Linked DNA regions of Homo sapiens: all the other regions are linked to region 4. The links are contacts of gene promoters, found by promoter capture Hi-C in blood cells and fetal thymus (Javierre and others, 2016). All regions are on one chromosome and are shown on one strand. The core of a region is centred on a gene start or on the middle of the fragment in contact, and the rest is flanking DNA. Distances in the headings are between cores, read along the strand shown. Region 1 overlaps BDP1 (BDP1 general transcription factor IIIB subunit). Region 2 overlaps MAST4 (microtubule associated serine/threonine kinase family member 4). Region 3 overlaps MAST4 (microtubule associated serine/threonine kinase family member 4). Region 4 holds the start of CCNB1 (cyclin B1). Region 5 overlaps BDP1 (BDP1 general transcription factor IIIB subunit). Region 6 overlaps MCCC2 (methylcrotonyl-CoA carboxylase subunit 2). Region 7 overlaps BDP1 (BDP1 general transcription factor IIIB subunit).

The links. The method cuts DNA at HindIII sites, captures the fragments that hold promoters and counts their contacts. A CHiCAGO score of 5 or more calls a contact.
Region 1: a contact is called between a fragment that was not itself captured here and the fragment with the promoter of CCNB1 in region 4, in 1 of 17 cell types (total CD8 T cells). The highest score is 5.7, in total CD8 T cells.
Region 2: a contact is called between a fragment that was not itself captured here and the fragment with the promoter of CCNB1 in region 4, in 1 of 17 cell types (fetal thymus). The highest score is 6.6, in fetal thymus.
Region 3: a fragment that was not itself captured here is called in contact with the fragment with the promoter of CCNB1 in region 4 in 1 of 17 cell types (activated CD4 T cells); the score reaches 6.8 in activated CD4 T cells.
Region 5: a fragment that was not itself captured here is called in contact with the fragment with the promoter of CCNB1 in region 4 in 3 of 17 cell types (activated CD4 T cells, monocytes and non-activated CD4 T cells); the score reaches 7.0 in activated CD4 T cells.
Region 6: a fragment that was not itself captured here is called in contact with the fragment with the promoter of CCNB1 in region 4 in 8 of 17 cell types (total B cells, naive CD8 T cells, monocytes and 5 more); the score reaches 16.1 in total B cells.
Region 7: a contact is called between a fragment that was not itself captured here and the fragment with the promoter of CCNB1 in region 4, in 11 of 17 cell types (total CD4 T cells, monocytes, naive CD4 T cells and 8 more). The highest score is 12.3, in total CD4 T cells.

Annotation. Positions count from the first base shown.
Region 1 is chr5:71,560,905-71,564,032 of GRCh38, forward strand. It overlaps BDP1 (BDP1 general transcription factor IIIB subunit), which reads left to right. Exons shown (of 39, transcript NM_018429.3): 38 at 1,370-1,616. Among named protein-coding and RNA genes, the nearest start is that of MCCC2, 25 kb to the right of the region's middle. The HindIII fragment of the contact is 5,540 bases long and covers 1-3,128 here.
Region 2 is chr5:67,162,545-67,165,407 of GRCh38, forward strand. MAST4 (microtubule associated serine/threonine kinase family member 4) reads left to right here. Exons shown (of 29, transcript NM_001164664.2): 28 at 63-244; 29 at 603-2,863. Among named protein-coding and RNA genes, the nearest start is that of CD180, 33 kb to the right of the region's middle. The HindIII fragment of the contact is 2,124 bases long and covers 318-2,441 here.
Region 3 is chr5:67,013,030-67,016,022 of GRCh38, forward strand. All of the region lies in intron 4 of MAST4 (microtubule associated serine/threonine kinase family member 4), which reads left to right. Among named protein-coding and RNA genes, the nearest start is that of MAST4-AS1, 10 kb to the left of the region's middle. RefSeq lists a silencer at 1,992-2,286. The HindIII fragment of the contact is 2,177 bases long and covers 195-2,371 here.
Region 4 is chr5:69,165,411-69,168,468 of GRCh38, forward strand. It overlaps CCNB1 (cyclin B1), which reads left to right and starts at 1,740. Exons shown (of 9, transcript NM_031966.4): 1 at 1,740-1,873; 2 at 2,498-2,668; 3 at 2,763-2,933. The coding sequence starts at 1,853. RefSeq lists enhancers at 1,420-2,385, 1,766-1,995. The HindIII fragment of the contact is 10,262 bases long and covers 1-3,058 here.
Region 5 is chr5:71,538,671-71,541,473 of GRCh38, forward strand. It overlaps BDP1 (BDP1 general transcription factor IIIB subunit), which reads left to right. Exons shown (of 39, transcript NM_018429.3): 27 at 372-408; 28 at 887-979; 29 at 2,784-2,803. Among named protein-coding and RNA genes, the nearest start is that of MCCC2, 47 kb to the right of the region's middle. The HindIII fragment of the contact is 3,292 bases long and covers 1-2,803 here.
Region 6 is chr5:71,591,155-71,594,238 of GRCh38, forward strand. It overlaps MCCC2 (methylcrotonyl-CoA carboxylase subunit 2), which reads left to right. Exons shown (of 17, transcript NM_022132.5): 2 at 1,772-1,838. Among named protein-coding and RNA genes, the nearest start is that of MCCC2, 5.4 kb to the left of the region's middle. The HindIII fragment of the contact is 540 bases long and covers 1,385-1,924 here.
Region 7 is chr5:71,480,804-71,483,851 of GRCh38, forward strand. BDP1 (BDP1 general transcription factor IIIB subunit) reads left to right here. Exons shown (of 39, transcript NM_018429.3): 8 at 3,039-3,048. Among named protein-coding and RNA genes, the nearest start is that of BDP1, 27 kb to the left of the region's middle. RefSeq lists an enhancer at 2,599-2,893. The HindIII fragment of the contact is 1,468 bases long and covers 848-2,315 here.

The DNA.
Region 1 (3,128 bases), core at 104-2,603, 2.4 Mb after region 4:
GAAGGTAAAGCTCAGTGGTATCTCTTCTGGCCTTAGATATGTGCTGAAAATAGAATGAGGCCCAGGTACAGTGGCACATGCCTATAATCCCAGCTACTCAGGAGGCTGAGGCCGGAGTTTGAGATTGCAGTGAGCTATGATTGTGCCTGTGAATAGCCACTGCACTCCAGCCTGGGCAACATAGCCAGACCCGTCTCTGAAAAAAGAAAAAAAAAGGCTGGGTGCGGTGGCTCATGCCTGTAATCCCAGCACTTTGGGAGGCTGAGGTGGGTGGATCACCTGAGGTTGGGAGTTCCAGACCAGCCTAACCAACATGGAGAAGCCCCATCTCTACTAAAAATATAAAATTAGCTGGGCATGTTGGCACATGCCTGTAATCCCAGTGACTCAGGAGGCTGAGGCAGGAGAATCGCTTGAACCCAGGAGGCGGAGGGTGCGGTGAGCCGAGATTGTGCCATTGCACTCCAGCCTGGGCAACAAGAGCGAAACTGTCTCAAAAAATAAATTAAAATAAAATAATAACATCATGAGAGTTTGGATTAAAACAGGTTGAGAAGCAGTGTTCTAGAACGGAAGTCAGCATTTTTTGTAAAATGGCATTTGTATATATTTTAGGCTTTGTAAGCCATGTGGTCTCTGTTAACAGCTATTCAGCTCTGCAGTTACAGCACAAAAGCAACCATAGACCATATGTAAACAGATGAACATAGCTGTGTTCCAGTAAAACATACTCACAGAATTGGGTGCGGGGCTGCATGTGGCCTGTAGAGCATACTGTGCTGACCACTGTTCCACAGCTTTGCTACTCAGAGTGTAGTCCTGACAACAGCAGTATGGACATCATTTGAGAACTTGATAAAATGCAGAACTCAGGCCATGCCCGCTACCAACTGTGCGAATCTTCATTTTAATAAGATCCCCAAGTGATTTGAATGCTAGAGATGTTCTAGAGACCGGGGTCCTGCTAATTTTGCCCAGGCTGTTTTTGAGCTCCTGGCCTTAAGTGGTCTTCCCACCTTAGCCTCCCAAAGCAGAAGCAGGTATTAAGGTTGTGTCTTGGCTGGGTGCGGTGGCTCACGCCTGTAATTCCAGCACTTTGGGAGGCTGAGGCAGGCAGATGACGACGTCAGGAGTTCGAGACCAGCCTGACCAACATGGTGAAACCCCGTCTCTACTACAGCTACTTGGGAGGCTGAAGCAGGAGAATCTCTTGAACCTGGGAGGTGGAGGTTGCAGTGAGCCGAGATTGCGCCACTGCACTCCAGCCTGGGTGAGAGTGAGACTGCGTCTCAAAAAAAAAAAAAAAAAAAAAAAAAAAAGAATGTGTCTTCCTGGGTATTCTTGAATATCGTTACATTTGTATTTCTAGACCTGGCAGAAGACCCCTGGGATTTTTATCTTTAATATGCTCAAAGAATAGTTTGGAGTCTGATGAACCTATGCAAGTCCATAGTAAGAAACGCCTAAAACCTCTTATACCTGGATTAAGAAAGAAATTGAAAAGATCTAATCCATTCAATGAAAGCCAGGAAAAAAATCGAGAGTCCTCTGATCTGCTTCCATCTCCAAGTGTTATTACTACTCAATCTGAGAATATTAGCAGCTCAGCAACTCAGGTATGTGATAACTACTGTATTTTATAGTTTGTATGAGATGGGTTGGATATGAGATTCAACTAGGGAAAACATAGTAATTTGTTATTTTTATTTGATGTCAGAAATTATTTTAGAGCAACTCCCATCCTTCTCTCCATCGTGTTCCTCCATAATGGAAGAAGAAAAGGTGTTGAGTCAGGAAGTTACAGTTAGATTAGTACAGAGCCATTGAACTAACCATAAATGGACACTTAATAGCCATTCCTTTAATCTAGAGACCCTTCTGACTTGTGGAAGCAAAAGGAAGCAGTGCTGACACCCACAAGAATTTAAGGAACTGTAAAACTAGAATTTGTTCACATGTTTCATTTCTATGTCTCCTGAAGCTGTCCAATGGCAAGTATTGGGATGGAAAACTCTGTAAACCTGTATCAAAGACTTTGTAAAAATATTGGGGTGACTTAAGATCTTGACAAAGAGAAGGCTGGTGAGCATCTGTTGAACAGCATGAGCCTTTGGAAGGGGTACTTTTGTAAAGAACATCTTTAAACTTTTTAAAAACATTTTGTATTATTTGTTAGAATTATTTTCTGAGATCAAGATATCAGTCTAGCTTATCATTGCCAAAGTCGTGGGTTTTGTTTTTTTTGTGTGTTTGTTTTGAGACAGAGTCTCACTCACTCTGTCACCCAGGCTGTAGTGCAGTGGCGTGATCTTGGTTCACTGCAACCTCCATCCCCTGGGTTCAAGTGATTCTCCTGTCTCAGCTTCTCGATTAGCTGAGCTTACAGATGCATGCCACAACACCCAGCTAATTTTTGTATCTTTAGTAGAGGCGGGATTTCGCCATGTGGGCCATGCTGTTCTCAAATGCCTGGCCTCAAGCCTTGGCCTCCCAAAGTGTTGGAATTACAGGCATGAGCCACTGTGCCTGGCCTGTAGTGTTCTTATTATATTCAGGGAAAAAGGCCCTTTGTGATAAAGATTGCAATTTTTTTTTTCTCTGTATGTCATTTGTCTTTTGATTTTATTTATGGTGGTTTTTGTCAAGCAGACATTTTTTATTTCTGTTTAATTTGTCAATCTTTTATAGCTTTCTGCTTTCAGATAGTTTAAAAAGGTACTCTTCCCAGCTGGGTGCGGTGGCTCACGCCTGTAATCCCAGCACTTTGGGAGGCCAAGGCGGGCAGATCACCTGAGGTGAGGAGTTTGAGACCAGCCTGGCCAACATGGCAAAACCCCATCTCTACCAAAATACAAAATTTAATCAGGCACGGTGGTGTGTGCCTGTAGTCCCAGCTACTTGGGAGGCTGAGATAAGAGAATTGCTTGAACCCGGGAGGTGGAGGTTGCAGTGGGCTGAGATCATGCCATTGCATTCCAGCCTGGCTTTGTCTTAAAATAAATAAATAAATAAAAAGGTACCCTTCCCCACCTACCTCCGTCCAGAATTATAAAAGTGTTTTTCCATGGCATTTTTATAGTAGAGTTTTTTAAAAAATACTTTTACATTTAAATCTTTTGATCCATCTA
Region 2 (2,863 bases), core at 130-2,629, 2.0 Mb before region 4:
TTTTGGGGAGGCAGCAATAGTTCTGAAAGAAGACTGAACAATTTTTTCCTGTTTTTCTGTAGGAGGAGATCTCTTTTCAAAAAGCTAGCCAAGCAGCCTTCTCCTTTACTCCACACCAGCCGAAGTTTCTCCTGCTTGAACAGATCCCTGTCATCGGGTGAGAGCCTCCCAGGTTCCCCCACTCATAGCTTGTCTCCCCGGTCTCCAACACCAAGCTACCGCTCCACCCCTGACTTCCCATCTGGTGAGTGAGTCTCCTGGTCTAAACAGCAGAGGGGAGGGGAGGTAAAGTCATGTGAGGTCCCCAAAAAACATGAAGCTTGTTCCAGCTGAAAGAAAGCAGGTTGAAGGTGTAAATTATAAAGACAGATTTATAGAGAGGTCATAAGATGTGGCTATTCTGACCAAACAAATAAGTCAAGAAGTATGGGGCTAAACCTTGGCCTGGAGAGGTTTATCTGAAAAGTGTTTATTCCACTAGCTAAATGCTGAGACAATTTGCTGATCTTACCTGGCCTTACCTAATACAGTCTGGGCTACAACTGTGAAAAAAAGGGGAAAATGACCATGGATGCTCACAGCCTTCTGTTTTCCATCCACAGGTACTAATTCCTCCCAGAGCAGCTCCCCTAGTTCTAGTGCCCCCAATTCCCCAGCAGGGTCCGGGCACATCCGGCCCAGCACTCTCCACGGTCTTGCACCCAAACTCGGCGGGCAGCGGTACCGGTCCGGAAGGCGAAAGTCCGCCGGCAACATCCCACTGTCCCCGCTGGCCCGGACGCCCTCTCCAACCCCGCAACCCACCTCCCCGCAGCGGTCACCATCCCCTCTTCTGGGACACTCACTGGGCAATTCCAAGATCGCGCAAGCCTTTCCCAGCAAGATGCACTCCCCGCCCACCATCGTCAGACACATCGTGAGGCCCAAGAGTGCGGAGCCCCCCAGGTCCCCGCTGCTCAAGCGCGTGCAGTCCGAGGAGAAGCTGTCGCCCTCTTACGGCAGTGACAAGAAGCACCTGTGCTCCCGCAAGCACAGCCTGGAGGTGACCCAAGAGGAGGTGCAGCGGGAGCAGTCCCAGCGGGAGGCGCCGCTGCAGAGCCTGGATGAGAACGTGTGCGACGTGCCGCCGCTCAGCCGCGCCCGGCCAGTGGAGCAAGGCTGCCTGAAACGCCCAGTCTCCCGGAAGGTGGGCCGCCAGGAGTCTGTGGACGACCTGGACCGCGACAAGCTGAAGGCCAAGGTGGTGGTGAAGAAAGCAGACGGCTTCCCAGAGAAACAGGAATCCCACCAGAAATCCCATGGACCCGGGAGTGATTTGGAAAACTTTGCTCTGTTTAAGCTGGAAGAGAGAGAGAAGAAAGTCTATCCGAAGGCTGTGGAAAGGTCAAGTACTTTTGAAAACAAAGCGTCTATGCAGGAGGCGCCACCGCTGGGCAGCCTGCTGAAGGATGCTCTTCACAAGCAGGCCAGCGTGCGCGCCAGCGAGGGTGCGATGTCGGATGGCCGGGTGCCTGCGGAGCACCGCCAGGGTGGCGGGGACTTCAGACGGGCCCCCGCTCCTGGCACCCTCCAGGATGGTCTCTGCCACTCCCTCGACAGGGGCATCTCTGGGAAGGGGGAAGGCACGGAGAAGTCCTCCCAGGCCAAGGAGCTTCTCCGATGTGAAAAGTTAGACAGCAAGCTGGCCAACATCGATTACCTCCGAAAGAAAATGTCACTTGAGGACAAAGAGGACAACCTCTGCCCTGTGCTGAAGCCCAAGATGACAGCTGGCTCCCACGAATGCCTGCCAGGGAACCCAGTCCGACCCACGGGTGGGCAGCAGGAGCCCCCGCCGGCTTCTGAGAGCCGAGCTTTTGTCAGCAGCACCCATGCAGCTCAGATGAGTGCCGTCTCTTTTGTTCCCCTCAAGGCCTTAACAGGCCGGGTGGACAGTGGAACGGAGAAGCCTGGCTTGGTTGCTCCTGAGTCCCCTGTTAGGAAGAGCCCCTCCGAGTATAAGCTGGAAGGTAGGTCTGTCTCATGCCTGAAGCCGATCGAGGGCACTCTGGACATTGCTCTCCTGTCCGGACCTCAGGCCTCCAAGACAGAACTGCCTTCCCCAGAGTCTGCACAGAGCCCCAGCCCAAGTGGTGACGTGAGGGCCTCTGTGCCACCAGTTCTCCCCAGCAGCAGTGGGAAAAAGAACGATACCACCAGTGCAAGAGAGCTTTCTCCTTCCAGCTTAAAGATGAATAAATCCTACCTGCTGGAGCCTTGGTTCCTGCCCCCCAGCCGAGGTCTCCAGAATTCACCAGCAGTTTCCCTGCCTGACCCAGAGTTCAAGAGGGACAGGAAAGGTCCCCATCCTACTGCCAGGAGCCCTGGAACAGTCATGGAAAGCAATCCCCAACAGAGAGAGGGCAGCTCCCCTAAACACCAAGACCACACCACTGACCCCAAGCTTCTGACCTGCCTGGGGCAGAACCTCCACAGCCCTGACCTGGCCAGGCCACGCTGCCCGCTCCCACCTGAAGCTTCCCCCTCAAGGGAGAAGCCAGGCCTGAGGGAATCGTCTGAAAGAGGCCCTCCCACAGCCAGAAGCGAGCGCTCTGCTGCGAGGGCTGACACATGCAGAGAGCCCTCCATGGAACTGTGCTTTCCAGAAACTGCGAAAACCAGTGACAACTCCAAAAATCTCCTCTCTGTGGGAAGGACCCACCCAGATTTCTATACACAGACCCAGGCCATGGAGAAAGCATGGGCGCCGGGTGGGAAAACGAACCACAAAGATGGCCCAGGTGAGGCGAGGCCCCCGCCCAGAGACAACTCCTCTCTGCACTCAGCTGGAATTCCCTGTGAGAAGGAGCTGGGCAAGGTGAGG
Region 3 (2,993 bases), core at 33-2,532, 2.2 Mb before region 4:
CCCCATTGCTTACTTTATTATAGAATCCTGGGAATTTTTACATTCTGCTTTGTGGTCCTACATTTATCAGTGACTGATTTTGTCAGAGTTTGGGGGCTCTTAGCAAACTGTAATTGCAGGCAGTAGTACAAGCAAAATGCAGATCTTGACATCTGGTAGGCCAACCACCATTTTTATTCTGAAGTTCTTGAATAAGCTTTTAGCTGTTCAAAGTAAGTACCAGCACCTTGTGCCCCTGGAAAGTTTCTAACCTGACATGGAAGTTCAAGTGGCAGTATCTTTTAGAGGTAGTATATTGGGTTCTGAGTGAAAAACCTAGGTGGAGGGAATGAGAAACTGAAAATGTGAAATTTGCTGAGGTCTCTTAGGGTCATAGAATTAGAAGGGGAAGAAAGCTGATGGATTTACCAGGCCCATTTTGCCACATGAGTATTTGTTGAAGCTATCAAACAAAATAAAAGCTGTAAAGAAGTATGCTTTATTCTATCTAATTTTAAATGTTACAGTGTATGTTTATGTCTCACGCTTTACTGGGTTTCTTCCTTAAGAGTCGTTATTGGAATATTATGTAGTCATTGACAAATTTCTCAGCTATGAAATCTGTAGAAAATCACTGGATCCATAGCTTACATAAAAATCACTTATGCCCCTTTCACATTAATGTTTTCTAAAATGCAATAGGATGGATATATTTAAATTGGGAATTATAATAATTTAAAAAGTATAAGTATAAAATGTTTTACTTTTATAGATGTATGAAGGGGTTGAGGGAAAAAATTATGTTTGGCATGGGAAAAACTGCCAGCTGAATAAAGCACTCGAGGAAATATGGTAAATGAAGCCTTTGTTACTGTAAAACAATAGGCATTAAGTGGCTATTATGTAATGTTATTTCTTATGTCTGATTTGAGTGGCTTGTTGATCTTGGAACTTGAGATATAATTCCTGTAAAAATATTACTTTCACTTGGCTAATCTCAAGACTTTTGATACAAAAATCAAAGACTTTTCCAAATAGATTACCTAGATCAGGAACTAAGTACTGGAGCTACTGAAGCTATGTCAGATTTTTTTTTTTTCCATGTAAGGACTGATTTTATCTACTTAACTATTCCCTATCCTAGTACCCTTCCAGATAAACACAAGTAATTTGCTAACCCAAAAACTGGTTTATTGTAAAATTAACCTAGGCTTGCTCAACCACTGCAAAGGGCAGGCATGTGGCAAAACAATTGATAGGCACATCAGTTGCCTTGGCAAGTTGAATGGATGATTTTAAGTTCGCATTTCCATAGTAGGTCCCTAAGCAGAAGGATTTCTCATCTTTGATGTCAAATGGCCTTAGTGACCAGTGGAGCTAAACAGATGTGGGATAATTTGGGTGCTTTAGGTAATAGTTCTTGTTATGGATTCTGCAAAATAAGCCTCTAAGCGTATGAATCATAATTTCCTATATGTTTTAGGATTTGATGTCTGGGGTTACGTATTTGAACCGTGGAATAAAAGTTGCCGTATTTTTACTGTGTGGCCTGTAAAACTTATTTGTAGCATTCTTTCTCAATAGATGCCTTCTCTCCTGTGAAGTTCAGGCAGGTTAGCCTTTGAAATCAAGGATTTTTAAAGTGAAAAATCAATAGTGACTTTCTTAACATTGGAATCCAGGCTTAAGATCAGAGACCTGCTCTCTTCAGTCCAGTTCTTGGATCTTACTGCTTTTAATGCTATTTTACCAGCATAGCCATGGCCAAAATGCCATTTTAGCAGGTAGACTTCATTTTTCTATAACATTGTGATTATGTATTATTTGATGGCTTCTTGTAGAGGAAGCTCTTTAATCAAGAGCAATTGTGGTTTTTCTTACCTTTTGAGATTTAACCTTACAATTAGTCTACCTTCTCACATCAGATCTAGGGTGATTTAGAGGTCAAAGAGAACAGATACTGAACTGGTTAGCTATTAATATGATACAACTTCTTTATGCCATTTCTCGGATATAGAGACATTCCATGGAATGGGTCCCAGGTTGGAAATCCATGAGGGAAAAGGGTTCTGACTCTTGGCACTGATAAACATATTCAGAAATGTTGTATTCCAGCCAGAGTAAATATATATGCCCTTTATACTTTTTTTCAGTTAGCAGAAGTTACTTCTAAACACTTATTTTGGCATTAAGGAAGCTCGTCATGACCTATTGTTCCAGAAAGATTATAGTCCTCGTTTTAAGCCAGTTCTTTAGTTCCCATGTAAGTGGCATGCCCAGCCTGGAGCTGAAGAAACAACCCCTGCTTTTCAAACCTTCCATTCTTATAGGTGTGTCCAGCAGGCAGTGGCTTGTAGCTGTTCCTTCAGCCACTTAACAGGTTTGATTTCAAAGCTTTTTAATAGAGAAACTAACATGTTTGGAGGGGATTCATGGCCCAACATTTATGGATTTTGTTGGGAAGTCTCAGGTGTGTATTTATCTTAAGTATATGTTAAGGCTATTAGACAAAAGTAATTGTTTGTGCTTTGCTCTGTTTTGTTTTTGCCGTCTAGTCCTAGACTGAATTTCTTAAGATTATCTTAGGGATTGGACTGGGAGGGAGTAGTTCCGAGTCCCGAAGGCTATATATCTCCACTTTCAGTTCCTTTTCTTTGGCTGCCTAAAGAGGAGCACTAAAGAGGAGTCAAGTGATTATAAATTCGGCCAAAAGACAGAGAAACCAAGAGCTGGACGATTAACCTCTGAAACATGGGAAGTTAATTACATTTACAAATACTTGGAGGGGCTATTTATGAGTCATGCATCTCTCTGTGACCCTTTTACTGCTTTGGGAGCTTGTGGATGAGGCTGAATCACTCTCTGAAACCTGATAACCTGATAACCTAGTTTGGCTAAGTTTGGCTTCTGTGAACAGGGTCTGAGGATTTATCACATCACGTCATTTTTTCATTTGTATGCCAAATATTTATTGAGTACCTTTTATGTGACCAGGGCTATGATTATCACCTGGG
Region 4 (3,058 bases), core at 490-2,989:
TATACTTTCTGCTAAGTTTTGCTGCGAACCTAAAACTGCTCTAAAAAATAAAGCATATAAAAGGAAAAATTTGGCCGGGCGTGGTGGCTCACGCCTGTAATCGCAGCACTTTGGGAGGCCGAGGCGGGCGGATCACCAAGTCAGGAGATCGAGACCATCCTGGCTAACATGGTGAAACCCCGTCTCTACCAAAAATACAAAAAATTAGCCGGCCGTTGTGGCGGGCGCCTGCCGTCCCAGCTACTCGGGAGGCTGAGGCAGGAGAATGGAGTGAACCCTGGAGGTGGAGGTTGCAGTGAGTCGAGATCGCACCACTGCACTCCAGCCTGGGCGACAGATCGAGACTCCGTCTCAAAAAAAAGTAAAAAAAAAAATTTTTAAACTGGAACACAGAGGATAAGTAATCCTGCTTCGCCCCTTGCCTCTCGCCCCTGCATGGGGCGAGGAAGGATTGATCAAACCCAGAAAGACTGAGTGAGAATGGATGTTGAACACAGAACTGAAGGATGAATGGGAGTTACCTGAATAGAACCCAGGGGCTTGAATGCAAGAAGAGGCGGGCATTCCAGGCAGAGGAGAGCAAGGGTAAGGGCCCCACGGGAGGCATTCGAGTAGGAGGGTGAACTATGATGACAGAAGACTCAATAACGATCCAAAGAAACCAAATGATTGGGCGCCTTCTTTCGGATCCGTGACTTCCAGCGCCAGGAGTCTCTATTGGCTCTTATACCGTTGCTCTATGGGATAGCAATGTTTTTGTCCTTCAGCCTCCCCTCCAATTGCTGAGCTGCTGGTGTGTTTTGAGGAGTAGAAGGCAAAAAGAACCCTCTTGTTTTTCTTTGGATCTAGAGAGAATCTGAGCAAATGACAAAGCAAATGGGGTAAAATGTCTTTTTGTTTAGTTTTTCCTGATTTTCCCATGAGAGGCAAATACATGTTAAGGATAGTTGAATCTGAGTAAAGGGCATAGAAATATTCCTTACAAGATTTTTGTTGGCAACTGGTCTAAGTATGAAATTATTTCCAAATAGAAAGCTAAAACAAACAAAACAATTGGCCTTGGGAAACTGGACAATCTTGAAGTAATCAAGTAATATTGTTAAGGGACAATCAGTGTTGTGAAAACAACACGGATACACCCCCTCCCTCCCCCTCAAAAAAAAAAACCCTAAATTCAGTTCCCCCGTTGCTAATGTGTGACCCTGGCAAAGTCATCTAAGTCGCTGAGCTTCAGTTCCTCCAACCCAGAGAGTTGTTGCAACGATCAAATGAAAGAATGTCTATTAAAGCCTTTCATGAACTATATTATTGCTGCTACCGTAGAAATGGAAAGTGTGCAACACTAGATCCAAAACTACTTTTGACACTTCTGAGACTGTGGCCGCGCCTCTGTCACCTTCCAAAGGCCACTAGGCCTTTCCTGAGCTGGCATTGGCAACGCACACTCTTGCCCGGCTAACCTTTCCAGGTGGGCGGCGCACTGGCTTCACTGCTCTCCAGGTGGCCGCTGCAGCTGCCCGAGAGCGCAGGCGCAGAGGCAGACCACGTGAGAGCCTGGCCAGGCCTTCCGGCCTAGCCTCACTGTGGCCCCGCCCCTCTCGAACGCCTTCGCGCGATCGCCCTGGAAACGCATTCTCTGCGACCGGCAGCCGCCAATGGGAAGGGAGTGAGTGCCACGAACAGGCCAATAAGGAGGGAGCAGTGCGGGGTTTAAATCTGAGGCTAGGCTGGCTCTTCTCGGCGTGCTGCGGCGGAACGGCTGTTGGTTTCTGCTGGGTGTAGGTCCTTGGCTGGTCGGGCCTCCGGTGTTCTGCTTCTCCCCGCTGAGCTGCTGCCTGGTGAAGAGGAAGCCATGGCGCTCCGAGTCACCAGGGTGAGCCGCTTCGGACTGCGAACTAACGCGGCCTTCTTAGCTGCTGCCTGCTCTCCCTGCCTCGCCTGCGGGAGCCTCCCGAGCGGGAGAGGGCCGCAGGAGCGATTTGGGGAGGAAGGTGGGAGGGGACTCACCAAGAGAGCGCCGAGGTGGGCCCAGGCCTGGTGAGAGAGTGTGGGGGACGATGGATGGAGGGAGGAAGGTGAGAAAGAGAACTGGACGGATATTGGATAAATGTTTTGGGGAGGTGGAGAGTCGACTGGGAACCTTTTGAAAAAGTGATAGAGGGTCCCTGAGTGGGCCCGCCAGCAACTCTGTAACCCCCTTCCCAGAGAGAAGGTGTCTGCAATTGGAGGCTTTTTCGGTTTCCTTTCAAATGTAAATTCTCGGTATTTTAGGGCTGGCCAGGACTAATCAGGGAATCCCTCAATTGGTAAATGTAGAGGTCGGCGGAAACTGACTTGTCACGGCCGCAGAGTAGACTCTGGGACCCATGTTTTCCCTCGGAACCCATTTTTAGTCGGCTTTCTTTCTGGGAACTTCTCCTTGTGCCCCACCTTAATTAACCCTTGACTTACTCGAGCCTTCGTGGATCAGCTCTTAAAGTGGTCTTGCTTCTTTCAGAACTCGAAAATTAATGCTGAAAATAAGGCGAAGATCAACATGGCAGGCGCAAAGCGCGTTCCTACGGCCCCTGCTGCAACCTCCAAGCCCGGACTGAGGCCAAGAACAGCTCTTGGGGACATTGGTAACAAAGTCAGTGAACAACTGCAGGCCAAAATGCCTATGAAGAAGGTAACTCTCTTCCTGACCTAACTTCTGTAAGAGCCCGCCTTCCAACTGTGGCCTTTGATGCAGAAACATTTCATTCTCTCTGTTTCATCTACAGGAAGCAAAACCTTCAGCTACTGGAAAAGTCATTGATAAAAAACTACCAAAACCTCTTGAAAAGGTACCTATGCTGGTGCCAGTGCCAGTGTCTGAGCCAGTGCCAGAGCCAGAACCTGAGCCAGAACCTGAGCCTGTTAAAGAAGAAAAACTTTCGCCTGAGCCTATTTTGGTAAACTTATTCTTACCATTGTAGAGTCTGTTGATTATTTCTTGTCCCTTATTTCACTGATACATGCAAGAGCATTCAAATGAATAGTAATATTAATACCATTTATTGAGTGCTTAGCATGAGGC
Region 5 (2,803 bases), core at 304-2,803, 2.4 Mb after region 4:
TTTGCAATACCCTTTAGGCCTTGGTTTCCATTGGGTAAAAATTGGCAGCAGATATGACTAGAGTTGAAGGATTATGAAAATGAAGAAGTAAAGTAAGAATGGTAGACGTACATAACAAAATGATAAGAGTTAAAATTTGCACATAATACAAGAAAAAGATAAAGTCAGGAGCAAGAGACACAAGAATTTTGCCTTTAAATTGTTTATGTTCTTGCTGGTGAAATTTTGTGAATAATTATAAATTAAGACAAACCAGTTTACACTATTGTAGCTAAAAGTATGGAAAGACCTCTGAAAATGTAGTGCATGCTGAGAAACAGAACATGTTTGGGGAAGTATTTTAAGATGTTACTTATTTTTTTCCTTTTTAGGAAATGACCACAAGTGAACATATCCAAGATGAACCAGGTAACTGTTATCAAGGAAACTGCTAAGACTACCTTGATTAACACTAGTACAGTGATTTAATAGTGGGGATAATAAATGAATCAGTTTGCTGGAGAGTTTAACAAAAAGATTCAGCTATTGAATGTGTTGTCTCTGTGAGAAATGTGGATTCTTGGAATGTTATTTTAGAAGGTGAATTAAAAAAATGTTTAAGAAGTATTTGAGCATTTCCTCTGGATCTTCACAAATGGGAGAGCATTTTCCTTGAAGATATTATTTAATGGGAGGGAGGCATGGTCAGTGAGTCAAAACCAACAGTGATGATTTATTTATTTGTAGCATATAACCTGAACAAAAGACTACCTTAGTAAGGGATTAATGGCTCAGAGGATATTGGAATCTGCTCCTAGGAGATAAACACCTTAATTAAAAATCTTTTTTAAGTGAACAGATTTCCGGATTCATTCTTTTTTTTAATGTTGATATATTTCCTCACAAGGTACCAATGATGGAAGCACCGAAGCTGCAATAACTTTACTTACAATGGGAGATCTAGTATTGCAGTCAGAGATCAGTAGTGAACAGGGTGATGGTAAGAATGAAAGCTAAGTCCTATCAAAAATAGAAACTTTTAAAACCTAACTTAAGAAATTATACCCACATTTGAGTAATAACCCTTTTACCTTTGAAGTTGTCTCCATTTTGTTGTTCTTCCATAAAATATGATATGTATGTATTGATCCATCCACTATTTTACTACTGTTTAGGTGTAGTGACAGCTAATTCAAGATCATGCTCTTGGTTTATTAAGAATAATTTGTATTCATGGAATAGTTGTATGCATGGAATAGTTGTATGCATGGTAAAGGTAGTGAATACTACCTTTACCATCATAAATGTCATTGGTTAACTGAGCTCATTGATCACTGATATAGTTTATACATGTGTCTTTTGCAAAGGAGTTGCTGCTTGGGATGGTATTCACAATTAGATGACAAATAGAGCACAAAGAGACAATAGCACTCATTGAAATAATTTAGTTTAAACTGTTCTCAGTTTGGACAGAGCCAAAAGATATATCAACCAAGATTTTTAACTTATTAGATGGAAATCACAGACAAGTGATAAATCTTTACTATCTCAATATCTTTTAATTGCATGAAATGAATAATTATACTATTCCTGGTAATTATTTTGCCTGGTTACCATTCATTTTATTTACTTATTTATTTATTTGAGACGGAGTTTGGTTATGAGTAGCCTACCATTCATCTTATTTATTTATTTGAAGCAGAGTTTCGCTCTTGTCACCCAGGCTGGAGTGCAATGGTGCGATCTTGGCTCACTGCAACCTCTGCCTCCCAGGCTCAAGCAATTCTCCTGCCTTAGCCTCTCAAGTAGTTGGGATTACAATCGCATGCCACCATGCCCAGCTAATTTTTGTATTTTTAGTAGAGTTGGGGTTTCACCATCTTGGCCAGGCTGGTCTCGAACTGCTGACCTCAGGTGATCCACCCGTCTTGGCCTCCCAAAGTGCTGGGATTACAGGCATGAGCCACCGCACCCAGCTTCCATTCATTTTAAGTATTAGACTTTTGGGCCAGATGCAGCAGCTCATGCCAATAATACCAGCACTTTGGGAGGCTGAGGCTGGTGAATGCTTGACTTCAGGAGTTCAAGACCAGCCTGGGCAACATGGTGGAACCCCGTCTCTACAAAAAATACAAAAAATTAGGCAGGCATGGTGGTGTACACTTGTAGTCCTAGCTGCTTGGGAAGCTGAGGTGGGAGGATCGCTTGAGCTCAGGAGGTCAAGGCTGCAGTGAGCTGAGATCGCACCACTGCACTCCAGCCTGGGTGACAAAGTGAGACACTGTCTCAAAAATAGATAAATAAAGACATATTAGACTTTTAGGCTTGGAACCATGTATTTATCAGGAAAGTCTCTGATTTGTGTTCTGTATAGGGCTCCTTTCTTAGTGGCAGAGTATTGCAGTACAGCCTGTCAAAAACATATAGAACATAAAGTACATATAGAACATAAAGGTTTTAAAAATCTTAAATGCTGACAGTGCTGTCTTGAAATCCATCTGAGATTATATAATTACTGAAAGTAACAAAAGAACTCATTTTTACTAATAATCGGATAAAATTCCAGTCTGTAAGGATTATTAAGCTCACAACAGGTCAAATCCCTGGCATGAAATAGGGAGATCATAAATTTACAGCCAACAAGGGCAAAATTTATTTATTTCTAAAATCTTTTTCTATTGCTGCCACACAAATGAAGCAAACTTTAATAATACAGAATTTTACAATTACTAAATGTTGAGGAATTTATTTTGAGCATCTATAATTTGGTCCATTTTAATTTTGTTTTTTTTTTTTTTCTTCAGTAGGAGTATGTATAATTCCT
Region 6 (3,084 bases), core at 405-2,904, 2.4 Mb after region 4:
ACAGTTAGGAAGTTGCTTAGTGTTCTGTCAAACAGAAGGAACTAAATAACTAGAGATGCTAATCACATGGGGAGCAAAATGTATTAGTGGGCCAAGTCTGAATTTCAAAGATAATTAGCTAGTTAAGTATTGTTCTAAAGTAATATGCTGACCAAACAAAATTTAAAAATACAGAAGGGTGAAAAGTTAGTCCCTCTACCTCTTTTCTACTTCTCACTGTCAATATTTCCTTGTGTATTACTTAATTTGTGTATATATGCCAGCATAGAGTTTTGTTCTGTTTTTTTTTTTTTTTTTTTGAGATGGAGTTTTGCTCTTGTTGCCCAGGCTGGAGTGCAATGATGCAATCTTGGCTCACTGCAACCTCCGCCTCCCGGGTTCGAGGGATTCTCCTGCCTCAGCCTCCCGAGTAGCTGGGATTACAGGCAAGCACCACCTTGCCTGGCTAATTTTGTATTTTTTAGTAGAGACGAGTTTTCTCCATGTTGGTCAGGCTGGTCTCGAACTCCCGACCGTAGGTGATCTGCCCGCCTCGGCCTCCCAAAGTGCTGAGATTACAGGCGTGAGCCACCACGGCTGGCCGAGTTTTGTTCTTTTTACTAATTTATTTATTTATTTGAAACAGTCTTGCTCTGTCACCCAGGCTGGAGTACAATGGCACGATCCTAGTTCACTGCAGCTTCAAACTCCTGGGCTCAAGAGATCCTTCCACCTTAGTTGGTCAAGTCGCTGGGACACACCACCATGCCCAGATAATTTTTAAATTTTTATTCTTTTTATTTTTATTCTTTTTGTAAAGATGGAAGTCTCCCTATGTTACTCAGGCTGGTCTCAAACTCCTGGGCTTAAGCGATGCTCCTGCCTCCGCCTTCCAAAGCTCTGGGATAACAGACATAAGCCACCACACTCAGCCTGTTCTTTTTAAAACATAAAATAGGATCCTTGGCCAGGTGCGGTGGCTCATGCCTGTAATCCCAGCACTTTGGGAGGCCGAGATGGGCAAATCACTTGAGGTAAGGAGTTTGAGATCAGCCTGGCCAACATGGCGAAACCCGGTCTCTATTAAAAATACAATAATTAGCTGGGCATGGTGGCACACACCTGTAGTCCCAGCTACTTAGGAGGCTGAGGCAGGAGAATCGCTTGATCTCGGGAGGCGGAGGTTGCAGTGAGCCGAGATTGCACCATTGCACTCCAGCCGGGGCAACAAAGGGAGACTCTGTCCCAAAAAATAAAAATACAAAATTAAAAATAAAAATAAGATCCTTTTTCTCCCTCTGGGATTTGTTTTTAAGTGTACTTTGTCAGTAAGCAAGCATTGGTTGGAATCTCAGATAGTGACTGATGGGACAGGAAAAATAAGATGGTATTCTAACCTTCAAAAAGCTTATATTCCTTAAAATAGGAAAACAAATAGAGATCAGTTTAAGTTCAGAAGGTGTTTAAGGAAGAAAGATGTTAAATTGAGTAGGAGTGGCCAGAAGTAGAGTTGAAGATGAGATAAAACATGAATTAGGCTTACAGAGGAGTAAGATATGGAGAGATGGACAAGTGGGGTGGTGAAGAAGAGCTTGAACAAGACAGGCAGGGGTGAATCTTTTCCATACGATCCAGTGGCCCAGCGTGGCTGCCACAGATGGGGTGGCCCAGTGTGGCGGCCACACAGAGTTGGCACAGACCACTGTTTTTTTTTTTTTTTTGACCTTTATTTTGGTAAAAAGGAATTGCTTTCTAATATTTCTCTCCCCTGTCTCCTCTATTTCTGTTTTAGGAGAACTACAAGCAGATGAAAGCACTAGTAAATCAGCTCCATGAACGAGTGGAGCATATAAAACTAGGTAAACACAGCATTTATTCCACAGCTTATGCCTTTACTTAAGATGTCCTAAAATAGTTATTGCTTTTAGGAAAAATACTGGAATTAAGCTTTTGATATTTTTTTTTTTTTTTTGAGATGGAGTCTTGCTCTCTTGCCCAGGCTGGAGTGCAGTGGCGCCATCTCAGCTCACTGCAACCTCCGCCTCCTGGGTTCAAGCCATTCTCCTGCCTCAGCCTCCCAAGTTGTTGGGATTACAGGTGCCTGCCTCCATGCCTGTCTAATTTTTGTATTTTTTAAATAGAGACAAGGTTTCACCATGTTGGCCAGGCTGGTCTTGAACTACTGATGTCAAGTGATCCATCTGCCTTGGCCTCCCAAAGTGCTGCAATTATAGGCGTGAGCCACTACTCCTGGCTGAGCTTTTGACTCTTAAGACTATGCATTTGTTGGTATGCAGGCATTTAATTTTATTTTTCCTATTACTTGGCCAGTTTTTCTCTTCATAGAGTACTACCACTTTTGGGGGGAAAAGTAAAGATTCAAATTCATAAATTTTATGAATAAATAATTTATTTTTAATTTTTATTAATTTTTTTTTTAAGAGATGGGTTCTTGCTCTATTGCCAGGCTGGACTGAACCCCTGGCTCAAGCGATCCTCTCATCTTGGCCTCCCAAAGTGCTGGGATTACAGGTATGAGCCACCACACCTGGCCAGTGATTTCTTAGTAGGCATTTAATATTTCCTCCCTAAGTGCTGAATCTCAGATGGAAAGCATTCTTCATATTTGATAGACTGTTTCAGATAACTTTTATCAACAAGTATATAATACTTAAAATTGTATATAATACTTTTAATGTAAAATTTTACATTTAGGTTAGAGTAGTTTAAATACTGGATCTCAGGAGTATAAAAATAGTGAAGAAGACTGGATTTGGAAAGTATGGTCTAGAATTGCTTATTTACTAGTTTATTTAGAGACAGGGTCTCCTCACTCTGTTGCTCGGGCTGGACTCGAAGTCGGGAGCTCAAGTGATCTTCTTGCCTCAGCCTCCCAAGTAGCTGAGACTGTACCTGTGCCCCTGTACGCAGCTATGGAATTCATACTTTTGAAGCCATTTTAGATCAAGGTGTTGTCTCCAGAAAAAGAATTCAAACTCTTGCTGAAATGAAAGTGTTTTGTTAGGGGTGATAACTCAATTGTTATGCCCATTTTGAGAGTTTGATTTGGTGAACTCACTGTCCCCCTTAGACATTAAGATGGTG
Region 7 (3,048 bases), core at 332-2,831, 2.3 Mb after region 4:
TCCACTCACCTCAGCCTCCCACAGTGCTAGGATTATAAGAAGTGAACCACCATGCCCGGCCAACCGTGAGTTTTTTTGAAATTGCATACTAGGCCAGGCGTAGTGGCTCATGCCTGTAGTCCCAACACTTTGGGAGGCCAAGGCGGGTGGATCACGAGGTCAGGAGATAAAGACCATCCTGGCTAACACAGAAACCCTGTCTCTACTAAAAATGTGAAAAATTAGCCAGGCGTGGTGGCGTGCGCCTGTAGTCCCAGCTACTTGGGAGGCTGAGGCAGGAGAATGGCATGAACCCGGGATGCAGAGGTTGCAGTGAGCTGAGATCGCGCCACTGCGCTCCAGCCTGTGAGACAGAGCAAGATTCCGTCTCAAAAAAAAAAAATGAAATCACATACCAGACATTGTGAATGATGTGTTGTAGAGTGTCTGGATTATGTTTTTTCTTTTTTTTTTTAAAGCGCAGTGGGCCAGGCGCGGTGGTTCACACCTCTAATCCTAGTATTTTGGGAGGCTGAGACGGGAGGATTGCTTGAGCCCAGAAGTTCAAACCCAGACTGAGCAACATGGCAAGATCCCATCTCTACAAAGAAAAAAAAAAAAAAAAAAAAAAAAGCCAGGCTTGGTGGCACACGTCCCCTAGCAATTCAGGAGGCTGAGGCAGGAGGATTGCTTGAGCCTGGGAGATCAAGGCTGCAGTGAGCTGTGATCACAGCACTGCATTCCAGTCTGGAAGACATCAAGACTCTGTTTCAATAAACAAAACAGAATAAAAAATAGTGTTGACTTTTGTTCTGGAAAACTGTTAATGTACTGCCAACTTCTTTGTTCCTGTTAAGGCTTGTCTTAAAGCTTTGTTGAGGCAGATCTAGACTGGTCTTTAATCTAGGACATCCTTTCTCCAATGGGATTTCTCATCTGATTTACAGAAAATAATTTGAATTACTATTATATTTTATTATTTTCTTCTTTTCCCAGAACAGTCTCATGGTAGGCATGAGTTATTATTTTCTAAGTTCTCTAAGGATGGTTATACTAATACTATACTATTAATAGATAAGTGAGAGAAGGGAATGCATTGCATACAGTGGCTGCTTTAATGCATTAGTACTTAATTCTCATGCTACATCCCTGGTAGAGAAAGGCTACTCTAGGGTATCGTTTTTATCTCTAATGGTGATCTTTCTGGTGTCTGAGGTGAATGTATTTGGGTATTAATGAGGTCTTTCCATTAGGATGCACCTGAACTCTATTGTCATATGGTGTTTTATGACTTTTAGCATCTTCCTTCTGCCTTCATGGCTTTAGCAGCTGTTCTCTTTTAAGCCTTATATTCTGGACATATGCAACCCATACTTAGGCCAAGGTATCATGGGGTATTTCCACCAGGCCTGTGAGGTACCCCTCTACACAGTTCCTTTTTAGAACTATGCTCCTAAAGATTCCCTACCTCTGCAGCCTAGTTGGATTGCTGTACCCTGTTTGGCCTTCACCTCCCTTTCCTTGGTTAGGAAATTGAGCCCAGGCAGAGAGCCAAGGTAAACATGGGCACATCTTGTCTGTTTTCCTTCTCTCCGTGATTGTAGTCTTGCTCTCACTATTGTCCTTTGCTTGAAAATAATTGATGCATATATTTTGTCAGTGTTAAAAGTCATTCGTGGTGGAGTTGGATATGTAGGACCTGTCCATAATGAGTTACTTTGCCAAGGCCAGAAGTGGAAATTATGGGATTTATTTTGTGATCATGGAATTTGGCCTGTTACTGGTTCTTACCTATGAAATCATTGACTAGTTTCAATATATTTCTTTGAGAAAGTTTTAAATTGTTCTGAATTATATTACCAATTAAGTAAAATATGAGGTAGCACTGTTTTAGAATTAAATGCCTGAAGCCTATTGATATTTCTTTTAGGACATTTAATTTAGTGTTTATAGCCAATCATTTTTTGTGGAGGTAACATTTGTTAACTTTTGAGGAAATGTTTAAATAACAGTATGATCTTTTAAGGCAGAAATAAGATTATCTTTGAAAACTTCTGTATTGATAATAAGTTTTGTGAAGAAAAACAAAAGAATGGGAAAGAAGGGCAACCTGTACATTAAAAGATGTTAATGTCATATCAGGTTTTAAAAATATGGGCAAGGCTAAACTGTATCATCTAAGAATACACACTTGGGTCATAAACAATAAGGAAATACAAGAAAGTGATTGCTTTACAAGTCATATTAGTGGTTAAGTTCTTTTGAAGGGAGGAAGGGGGCATGAAGTACTTCCTTTGTTTTATGTGATATTCTCTCTCTCTTTTTTGCAATTAAAAAGCTTTATTTTTGTGCTTTTAATAAAAACTTGTAGATCACTGACGTGTAGATGGGAAACATTGGCTGTTTGTTTCCTCTCCTACGATGTGTTTGCGTGATCAGACGTCTTCAGACACAAACTTATGCCCTCAGTCTTCCTAATGACTTTAGGATGGATTGAGCCTTAAGCCTTAAACATCTCCCTCTTAATGGAAGTAATCTGGTAGTAAACTGAGGACAGGGATTTTTGGGGCTGAGAAAAATGTGAGGAAATGTGCCTTAATATATAGAAGTTTGTCAGGATAAACTTGGCCTGCTTCAAAATTTCACTTAGTTGTTTCTCTATAGTCTTCTCTCCATGCTACTTGAAATATATTAGAACAATGATGTCAGAGGTTTAACCTGTTACGAATACTTAATTTTTTAAAAGTTAATACCAGTGAGCTTAGTCATAGGTTTGATCTGCTTTCATGTTTGTTGACTTTATTTTTTTCTGTCCTCTGTAAATCCAGCTTCCATTGCTGATTCATGCTATTGGTAATGAGAATCAAGAAGCTCAGTAAAAATCTTTCATCCTTATTTTTAAAAAGCCGAAGGTTTAAGTAACTTGCCTATTGGCAAAGACATATTAAGTAGAGAGCAGTATGTTATTCCTAAGAGTTTCATTTTAATGCTTACTGCATTTAAAAAAAAATGCTTGTTTTATGAGAGAAAATTACCATAGGGTTTTTTGTTGTTAACAGAATAAATTTA